Regions from separate parts of the Homo sapiens genome. Here all the other regions are linked to region 2. Evidence: promoter capture Hi-C in human tissues and cell types (Jung and others, 2019). All regions are on one chromosome and are shown on one strand. Each heading gives the region's core, a stretch centred on a gene start or on the middle of the fragment in contact. The rest is flanking DNA. Distances are from core to core; before and after follow the strand shown. Region 1 overlaps ZSWIM5 (zinc finger SWIM-type containing 5). Region 2 holds the start of PTCH2 (patched 2). Region 3 has its middle 16 kb from the start of ZSWIM5.

Evidence for each region. The method cuts DNA at HindIII sites, captures the fragments that hold promoters and counts their contacts. A contact is called where the count stands out against the background at its distance.
Region 1: a fragment that was not itself captured here is called in contact with the fragment with the promoter of PTCH2 in region 2 in 1 of the 25 tissues and cell types used here (liver).
Region 3: a fragment that was not itself captured here is called in contact with the fragment with the promoter of PTCH2 in region 2 in 1 of the 25 tissues and cell types used here (adrenal gland).

Annotation. Positions count from the first base shown.
Region 1 is chr1:45,192,392-45,195,091 of GRCh38, reverse strand. All of the region lies in intron 1 of ZSWIM5 (zinc finger SWIM-type containing 5), which reads left to right. Among named protein-coding and RNA genes, the nearest start is that of ZSWIM5, 13 kb to the left of the region's middle. The HindIII fragment of the contact is 4,871 bases long and covers 1-2,700 here.
Region 2 is chr1:44,841,832-44,844,531 of GRCh38, reverse strand. PTCH2 (patched 2) reads left to right here and starts at 1,279. Exons shown (of 22, transcript NM_003738.5): 1 at 1,279-1,671; 2 at 2,493-2,685. The coding sequence starts at 1,600. RefSeq lists a silencer at 1,064-1,333. The HindIII fragment of the contact is 15,143 bases long and covers 1-2,700 here.
Region 3 is chr1:45,221,122-45,223,821 of GRCh38, reverse strand. No RefSeq gene overlaps it. Among named protein-coding and RNA genes, the nearest start is that of ZSWIM5, 16 kb to the right of the region's middle. RefSeq lists an enhancer at 1-521. The HindIII fragment of the contact is 7,307 bases long and covers 1-2,700 here.

The sequences.
Region 1 (2,700 bases), core at 46-2,545, 350 kb before region 2:
TGGCATTTACCACAATGTTCTGTAATAATAGAAGAAGTTACTATGGGGGAAGAGAGTAGGAAGTGATTAACTTGGGAAGTGGGGACTACAGGATACATTGCTCTATTTTAATATAATTCCAATTATAAGAAATTTTAGAATTATGTCTAATATTGCAATAAAGATTGAAAACACTTTACTGCTTACAAGTTAGATTAACCTCTTTTTTTTTTTTTGAGACGGAGTCTTGCTCTGTTGCCCAGGCTGGTGTGCAGTGGTGCAATCTCGGCTCACTGCAAGCTCCGCCTCCTGGGTTCACACCATTCTCCTGCCTCAGCCTCCCGAGTAGCTGGGACTACAGATGCCCGCCACCACGCCTGGCTGATTTTTTGTATTTTTAGTAGAAACAGGGTTTCACTGTGTTAGCCAGGATGGTCTCGATCTCCTGACCTCGTGATCCGCCCACCTCGGCCTCCCAAAGTGCTGGGATTACAGGTGTGAGCCACCGCGCCTGGCCAGATTAAGCTTTAATAAAATTCTTTCTGTATTAACATTTTTTATGCCCCGTAATACTTTGGTGCATAGTTGATCCAAAGGGGTAATATTAGTAGGAAGGAAGATGACAAGATGTTACCAAATATTAATCCTTTTTTCTGAGAGTAAACTTTACAGATTTCTGGCTTTAAAATAGCTTTTTGTTATCTTCAGATAATCCTTACCTTTTTTGTTAAAAAAAATTGTTGCTTCTTTTAGGTATAAACATACAATGGAACTAATCAGGAAAATAGCTTTTTGTGCTTCCATTATCTTTTGGTCTGTGAGCAACAGGAAAATCTATTGTGTCTTTGAAAGCCTTGGAGATAATTACATTTTTCCCCCTATTCATTCATGGTTTTATTGAATAGAGGCCTGTAGCACTGATAGATTCTGGAAAAGCCAGCTTGTTCTTATTTTGTTTAAATCTGTCAATACCTGCTAACTGATATGAGTAGCCAACATCACCAACATACATTGATGTTATTAGTAATATAAAATCCTTCCCCACATTATGGCTCCCTATTGTGAAAAACTCTTATTTTTGTCTCACTGAATATTATATTATTGTAGTCTTTACCATCACATGTATTTGGATTTATCTACCATATGTGCATGTATGTATATATATATATATATACACATATGCACACATATGTACACATACGTACTATCACAAATATGTAATTCTGGCTCCTTCAAAGTCTCAGTTTTTTCAACTGTAAAAGGGCAAAATGATGGTACCTACTTCATAGGTTGTTTTGAGAATTAAATTAGTTAATATGTAAAGCACTTAGAATGAGGCTGAACACATATTAAGTGCTATGTAAATATTCACTATTATTATTACAGCTTTTACCAAAATTGAGAGTATTCTGTATTTATCTTCCCTCCCTCAACCTTCACTCCACCTTCTAAAGGTTTTGTAGTCTGACTTATGCTTTCATTCACTAAATTAAAATTGATCTCTTAAAGGTCGCTAGTGACCTCATGATTGCCAAACACAGTATCTTTTTTCTAGTCCTCATTCTTCATGACCTCTGTATAGAATTTTCTGTAGTCTACTATACATTTCTCTTGAAATGCTTCTTCCTAGATTTTTGTTTTACTTCACCATTCTGGCTTTCTTTCTGTTTTCTTTTATTCTCTTACCCCACAATAGTAGGATGCGCCTTCTTATATCAAGTCTTCTAATTTACAATCTAATTTATTTCTACAGTTTCAACTACAATTTTATGAACATAAGATAGCATGATATGATGTAGTGGTTTAAAATTTGTTTAAAGCAACTGTACTCTAACTTTCAAAGGAAATCTTATGCTGGAATTCCAGCTTTTGCAGCAGATAAAATCTGAGCTGTGTTGGGGATTGGGGTGGAGACCAGAACTTAATCAGTATGGCCAGCTACTTCTTCCCTTTGAAACTCTGAAGCACTTCCAAATAATCCAAAGATCAGCATATATATTTGCCTGCCAGATATTTCTAAGTGGATATCTTAATAGCCACTCAAAACCGAACTGCTTGATAAGGGGATTAATATCCAGAATATATTAAAGAACTACAACTCAGCCACAAGAAAAAACCTAATTCAAAAATGGGAAAGGACTTGAATAAACATTTCTCCAGAGACAATGTACAGATGACCAATAAGCACAAGAAAAGATGCTCAACAGCACTAATTATTAGAGTAATGAAAATCAAAACCACAATGAAATACTACTTCACACCCATTAGGATGGTTATTATTTTTTTAAAAAGCCAGAAAATAACAAATGTTGGCAAGGATGTGGAGAAGTTGGAACCATTTGGAAATATAAAATGGTGTAGCTTTTGTAGAAAACAGTATGGCAGTTCCTAAAAAAATTAAACACAGAATAACCATATGAACCAGAAATTCTGCTTCTGGTTGTATAACCAAAATAATTGAAAGCAGGGAATTGAATAGATATTTATACAACCATGTTTTATAGCAGCATTATTCACAATAGGCAGAAGATGGAAACAACCCAAGTGTCCATCGACAGATGAATGGATAAACAAAAGGTCTATTTTCCTTCCTTCCTTCCTTCCTTTCTCTGTCTTTCTATCTACAGGAAATGTTATTTAGCCCTGAAAAGGAAGGAAATCCTAATACATGCTACAACATGGATGAATGTTAAAGATTATGCTAAGTGAATAAGCCAGACA
Region 2 (2,700 bases), core at 30-2,529:
CATTTGGGAGGTCGAGGTGGGAGGATCCCTTGAGACTGGGAGCTCAAGGCTGCAGTGTGCTGTGAAGGCACCACTGCACTCCAACCTGGGCAACAGAGGGAGATCCTGCCTCAAAAAAAAAAAAAAAAAGGTGGGTTTTGGGGGTGATTCAAGTTCAGTTTTTGAAGATTATCTGCCAAGACAAAAGGACCAAAACATGTACAAAGGCAGGAACGAGGGAACACTGATGTGAGGGAACTATGGGAGAGAAGGCTTTAGCTAGATCACACAGGGCCCTGTGCTCCAAGTGGGCCTTGTGCTTTGGAGCTATCAGATTTGCATGTTAGAGAAATGACTCTGGTCTCAGTGGAGAGAGTGGACTGAAGAGGGCAAGAATGGAAGCCGGGAAGAGTGAACAGAAGAAATCTTGGGCTTTGATTGGGTCGGAAAGAAAGTGTGGCCCTACCCACTTTGATGCCATCTCTAAGACCTACTGCTACCTGACCCCCGACCTCTGGAAGGAGACTGTATTCACCAAGTCTCCCTATCAGGAATTCACTGACCACCTCGTCAAGACCCACACCAGAGTCTCCGCGCAGAGGATCCAGGCTCCAGCTGTGGCTACAACATAGGGTTTTTATACAAGAAAAATAAAGTGAATTAAGCCTGAAAAAAAAAAAAAAGAAAAGAAAAAGAAATTGTGGCCCTAGGCCGGGCGCGGTGGCTCACGCTTGTCATCCCAACACTTTGGGAGGCTGAGGCGGGCGGATATCCTGAGCTCGGGAGTCTGAGACCAACCGGGGCAACATGGCGAAACCCGTTCTCTACCAAAAATACAAAAAGCCGGGCGTGGTGGTGCATGCCTGTGATCCCAGCTACTCGGGAGGCTGAGGTGGGAGGATGGCTTGAGCCTGGAAGGCGGAGCCTGCAAGCCGAGATGGAGCCACTGCACTCCAGCCTGGGTGACAGAGTGAGACCCCGTCTTAAAAAAAAAAAAAAAAGTGTATCCCTAACAGAGCCCGCAAAGGCCCTTTCTCAGCGTAAGCCTCTGGACTTACACTTGGCCGGCGCTGCGCCTCTCCGGGATCCCCCTCCCTCCTCCTCCCTGGGGCCCCGCGGGCGGGAGGGAGGCGCGGGGTGGCCCAGCCTGGGTGGTCTCCCGCCCCGCCCCCTGCGGCGCCGTTACCTAGCAGCGGGCCGGGCCGCGCGGCTAGGGTAATTTGCGGGCCCCTCAGCCAATGGGAGGGCGTCGCCCCGGCCAGCTCCCTTTTCTGGAGCTCCAGCCGCCTCCCGGGGACTGCAGTTGCCACCTCGAGCCCTGCTGTGCGTCTCGGGCCAGCAATTCCGCCTGCGCGCGGGACCCATTCCTCCTCCAGCCGCCGCGGCCCACGGCCCACGGAGCGGGTGAATCCCGGCGCCGCGCCCCGGACCCGCAGCTCCCTGCACTCCTCCCTCCCAGCCGCTTTAACACCCACACCCCACAGTCTCTCCCACGCCCGCGCCTTGGCGGCCCCACTGAATCCCTACGCGGGGCCCAGCGGTACCGGGAGACCGGGCTAGCCTATGGGAGCGCCCAGATAACGCGGGTTGGGGGCGCCCGCGCCCCCCATCCCCGCCAGCATGACTCGATCGCCGCCCCTCAGAGAGCTGCCCCCGAGTTACACACCCCCAGCTCGAACCGCAGCACCCCAGGTGAGTAGAGGGGGAGCTGGAAGAAGGAAGAGAGCGGAGCCAGGTCTGTCACTCGGGCCTCTGCAAGGTTTGTGATGTCTTGAAGTGCCGAGTGTCATTAGATGTCTGAAGGCAAGTGAGAGCCAGCACCGCAAGCAAGTTGTGCGTGTGTGTCGGTGTGTCTGTGCCGGTGTCTCCTCATCGTCTGGCCAGTGAGAATGAATGTCTGTGGGTTCACCTCTGTGTCCACCCGACGACAGGTGTGTGTACATATGTATCCTGCTCTCAGAAAATGGGCCTATGCCGGCCGGGCGCGGTGACTCACGCCTGTAATCCCAACACTGGGAGGCTGAGGCAGGCAGATTACCTGAGGTCAGGAGTTCGAGACCAGCCAGGCCAACATGGGGAAACTCTGTCTCTACTAAAAATAAAAAATTAGCAGGGCGTGGTGGCGGGCGCCTGTAGTCCCAACTACTCGGGAGGCTGAGGCAGGAGAATCTCTTGAACCTGGGAGGCGGAGGTTGCAGTCAGCCGAGATCACACCACTGCACTCCAGCCAGGGCAACAGAGCGAGACTGCGTCTCAAAAAAAAAAAAAAAAAAAAAAAGGAGAGAAAACAAAAAGAAAAGAAAGGAAAATAGGCCTATGCCTTCCTCAGGTGTGTGCTGGGGATGGTGGGTGTTACATCTTCCAAGTCTGGGCCTGTGTCTGTGTTGGTGCTCCCTGTCCCACATCCAGAAATCAAGAAGCGAGGGCTGGGCAGCAGATATACAGGGTGAGAAGGGAAGGATTTCATGCATTGTTGCAGTGATGCCTGGCTGACCCTTCTCTTTCCATCCCAGATCCTAGCTGGGAGCCTGAAGGCTCCACTCTGGCTTCGTGCTTACTTCCAGGGCCTGCTCTTCTCTCTGGGATGCGGGATCCAGAGACATTGTGGCAAAGTGCTCTTTCTGGGACTGTTGGCCTTTGGGGCCCTGGCATTAGGTCTCCGCATGGCCATTATTGAGACAAACTTGGAACAGCTCTGGGTAGAAGGTAAGTTGTGGACAC
Region 3 (2,700 bases), core at 112-2,611, 380 kb before region 2:
GAGGGGGATTTGGCAGGGTCATAGGACAATAGTGGAGGGAAGGTCAGTAGATAAACAAGTGAACAAAGGTCTCTGGTTTTCCTAGGCAGAGGACCCTGCGGCCTTCTGCAGTGTTTGTGTCCCTGGGTACTTAAGATTAGGGAGTGGTGATGACTCTTAACGAGCATGCTGCCTTCAAGCATCTGTTTAACAAAGCACATCTTGCACCGCCCTTAATCCATTTAACCCTGAGTGGACACAGCACATGTTTCAGAGAGCACAGGGTTGGGGATAAGGTCACAGATCAACAGGATCCCAAGGCAGAAGAATTTTTCTTAGTACAGAACAAAATGAAAAGTCTCCCATGTCCACTTCTATCCACATAGACCCGGCAACCATCCGATTTCTCAATTTTTTCCCCACTCTTCCCGCCTTTCTATTCCACAAAACCGCCATTGTCATCATGGCCCATCCCCAATGAGCCGCTGGGCACACCTCCCAGACGGGGTCGTGGCCGGGCAGAGGGGCTCCTCACTTCCCAGTAGGGGCGGCCGGGCAGAAGCGCCCCTCACCTCCCGGACGGGGCGGCTGGCCGGGCGGGGGGCTGACCCCCCCCCCCCCACCCTCCCGGACGGGGCGGCTGGCCAGGCAGAGGGGTCCTCACTTCCCAGTAGGGGCGGCCGGGCAGAGGCGCCCCTCACCTCCCGGACGGGGCGGCCGGCCGGGCGGGGGGCTGACCCCCCCACCTCCCTCCCGGACAGGGCGGCTGGCCGGGCAGGGGGCTGACCCCCCCACCTCCCTCCCGGACGGGGCGGCTGGCCAGGCAGAGGGGCTCCTCACTTCCCAGTAGGGGCGGCCTTCTTCGGCAACTTATTGTGTAGTTGTAAGAGGATCAGCTTCGATGTTTGCGCTCTTTTGGTCATTATCAACTCCCAATGGCCAGCCACTGTGCTCCTCATCTTCAAGGCTCTTGTCTCCTTTGCAAAACTTCTTGAACCACCACTGCATTGTACGTTCATTAGCGTTAGCAGCTCCTGGGCTAAATGCATTGTTGCAAGTTGTCTCTGCTGCTTTACGACATTTTTGAACTTGAATAGGAAAATTGCTCAAATTTGCTTTTTGTCTAACATCATTTCCATAGTCTAAAATAAACATAAAATAAACAGCAAGTAATGTCATCAGCAAAATAAATAAATAAATAAATAAAGCGAGAGTGTCCATTAAAATAATGTATAACATAACCACATTTATTTGAGAGTGTATCCCAATATCAAAAGGCAAATTCCAACAATGCAAAAACTGCTGTTCCTTTTGCGTCATTAGTATAACTAATGATGGATATAATGACCGGACTATGTGTCTCCTCATTTTGTGGAGTTGGTGAGAAATTCACTTATATAAAGTTTAACCGAATCTTTTTAGGTAGAAACATAGAGTTGTTTTATTGTTGTATGGAAGTTTGAATGTGTGTAAATGGGTGCATATGGAAGCCAAAGGGATGAATTGTGCCATTTATTAATTTATTGCTTCTCAGATCCAAATGTACCCTTCTTTGCCATGCTATTTAATATTGGAGATGGACCCTGTAAACAGGTTTACTTTGTCAGCTGCTTGATATTAGTCTTGTCAATAGGGAGTTCTGGAGAAACACTGCAAGGCCATAGAAGAAGAAAGATACTTCATTTCCTGGTTCCACTGAGCTGGTTTTTGACATCATGAAGGAGGCCTGGTATTGCTCTCCTCAGCAGCCAGCTTTGCCCTGCATCCTTTAGCATATTTCTCTGCTACCTAGCAGGTTGCTTTTACTGACCAGCTACGGCCAACCTGCGTCCTTCAGCAAGTTTTTCCATCAGCCAGTGGGGTGCCCCTACAAAGCAGATCCAGCTGCCTACATGGTCCGGCAAGTTTTTCCTCCCTCTGGTGAGTCAGTCCTATGAGCCAGCTCTGGTCAGCAACATTCGGCAAGTTCTTTCACTAACTGAAGGCATCTTGTTCCTGAGGCAGCTACTCCCTCTCCAAAGAGGTCTGAGTCTTAGCTTAGTAGTGGGACTCTTCTAAGGCTTTTGTTCTTTCCTTGTTCCCTTGTTTTGCTTTTCCTTCTTAAATTCCAGTCCTCACTGGGCTTGTATGACCACACTCTCCACTTCTTGTATGACTCAGTCTCTTTTGTTGCTTCTCCCTGTATGTCTACCCCTCAATTATTGGTGGTCACTTGGTTTCATCCTAGTTCCTCCCTGCCTCCCCACCCTCAACTCTATATACTTGTTCTGGGTGATCTTAACTTTTTCTGTAAGATCCCAGCTCTTACCCTAACCCTAACCAAATTCTTCTTTGTCCTAAGTTATTCTCCTAGGCTTCAGACCAATTTACACTTGGATTTCTCACAAGTACCTCAAGCCTAACATGTCCCAAAAGTGAACTCATCATTCTTTCCTTGAAATCTGCTACTCCTGAATTTTCTATTTTGGTTATTGACTTCAACTTTTACTACATAGTCCAAGTTAAAGATTTGAAACCACTTTCTACTTTCTTTATTTTTCATCAAAGCTTCTTTATTGCTCCAGGTCTGCTTAGTCCACCTCCCAAATAGTTCTTAAATCTGCTTTAACATTCTTCTCCTAACCCATTGAAATATCCATGGAACCATTCTCATTGCCATTATTTTCTGTCCTCTCCACACCATTTTCATGCTACTGCCATATTTCTACCTCCTCTTTGTAT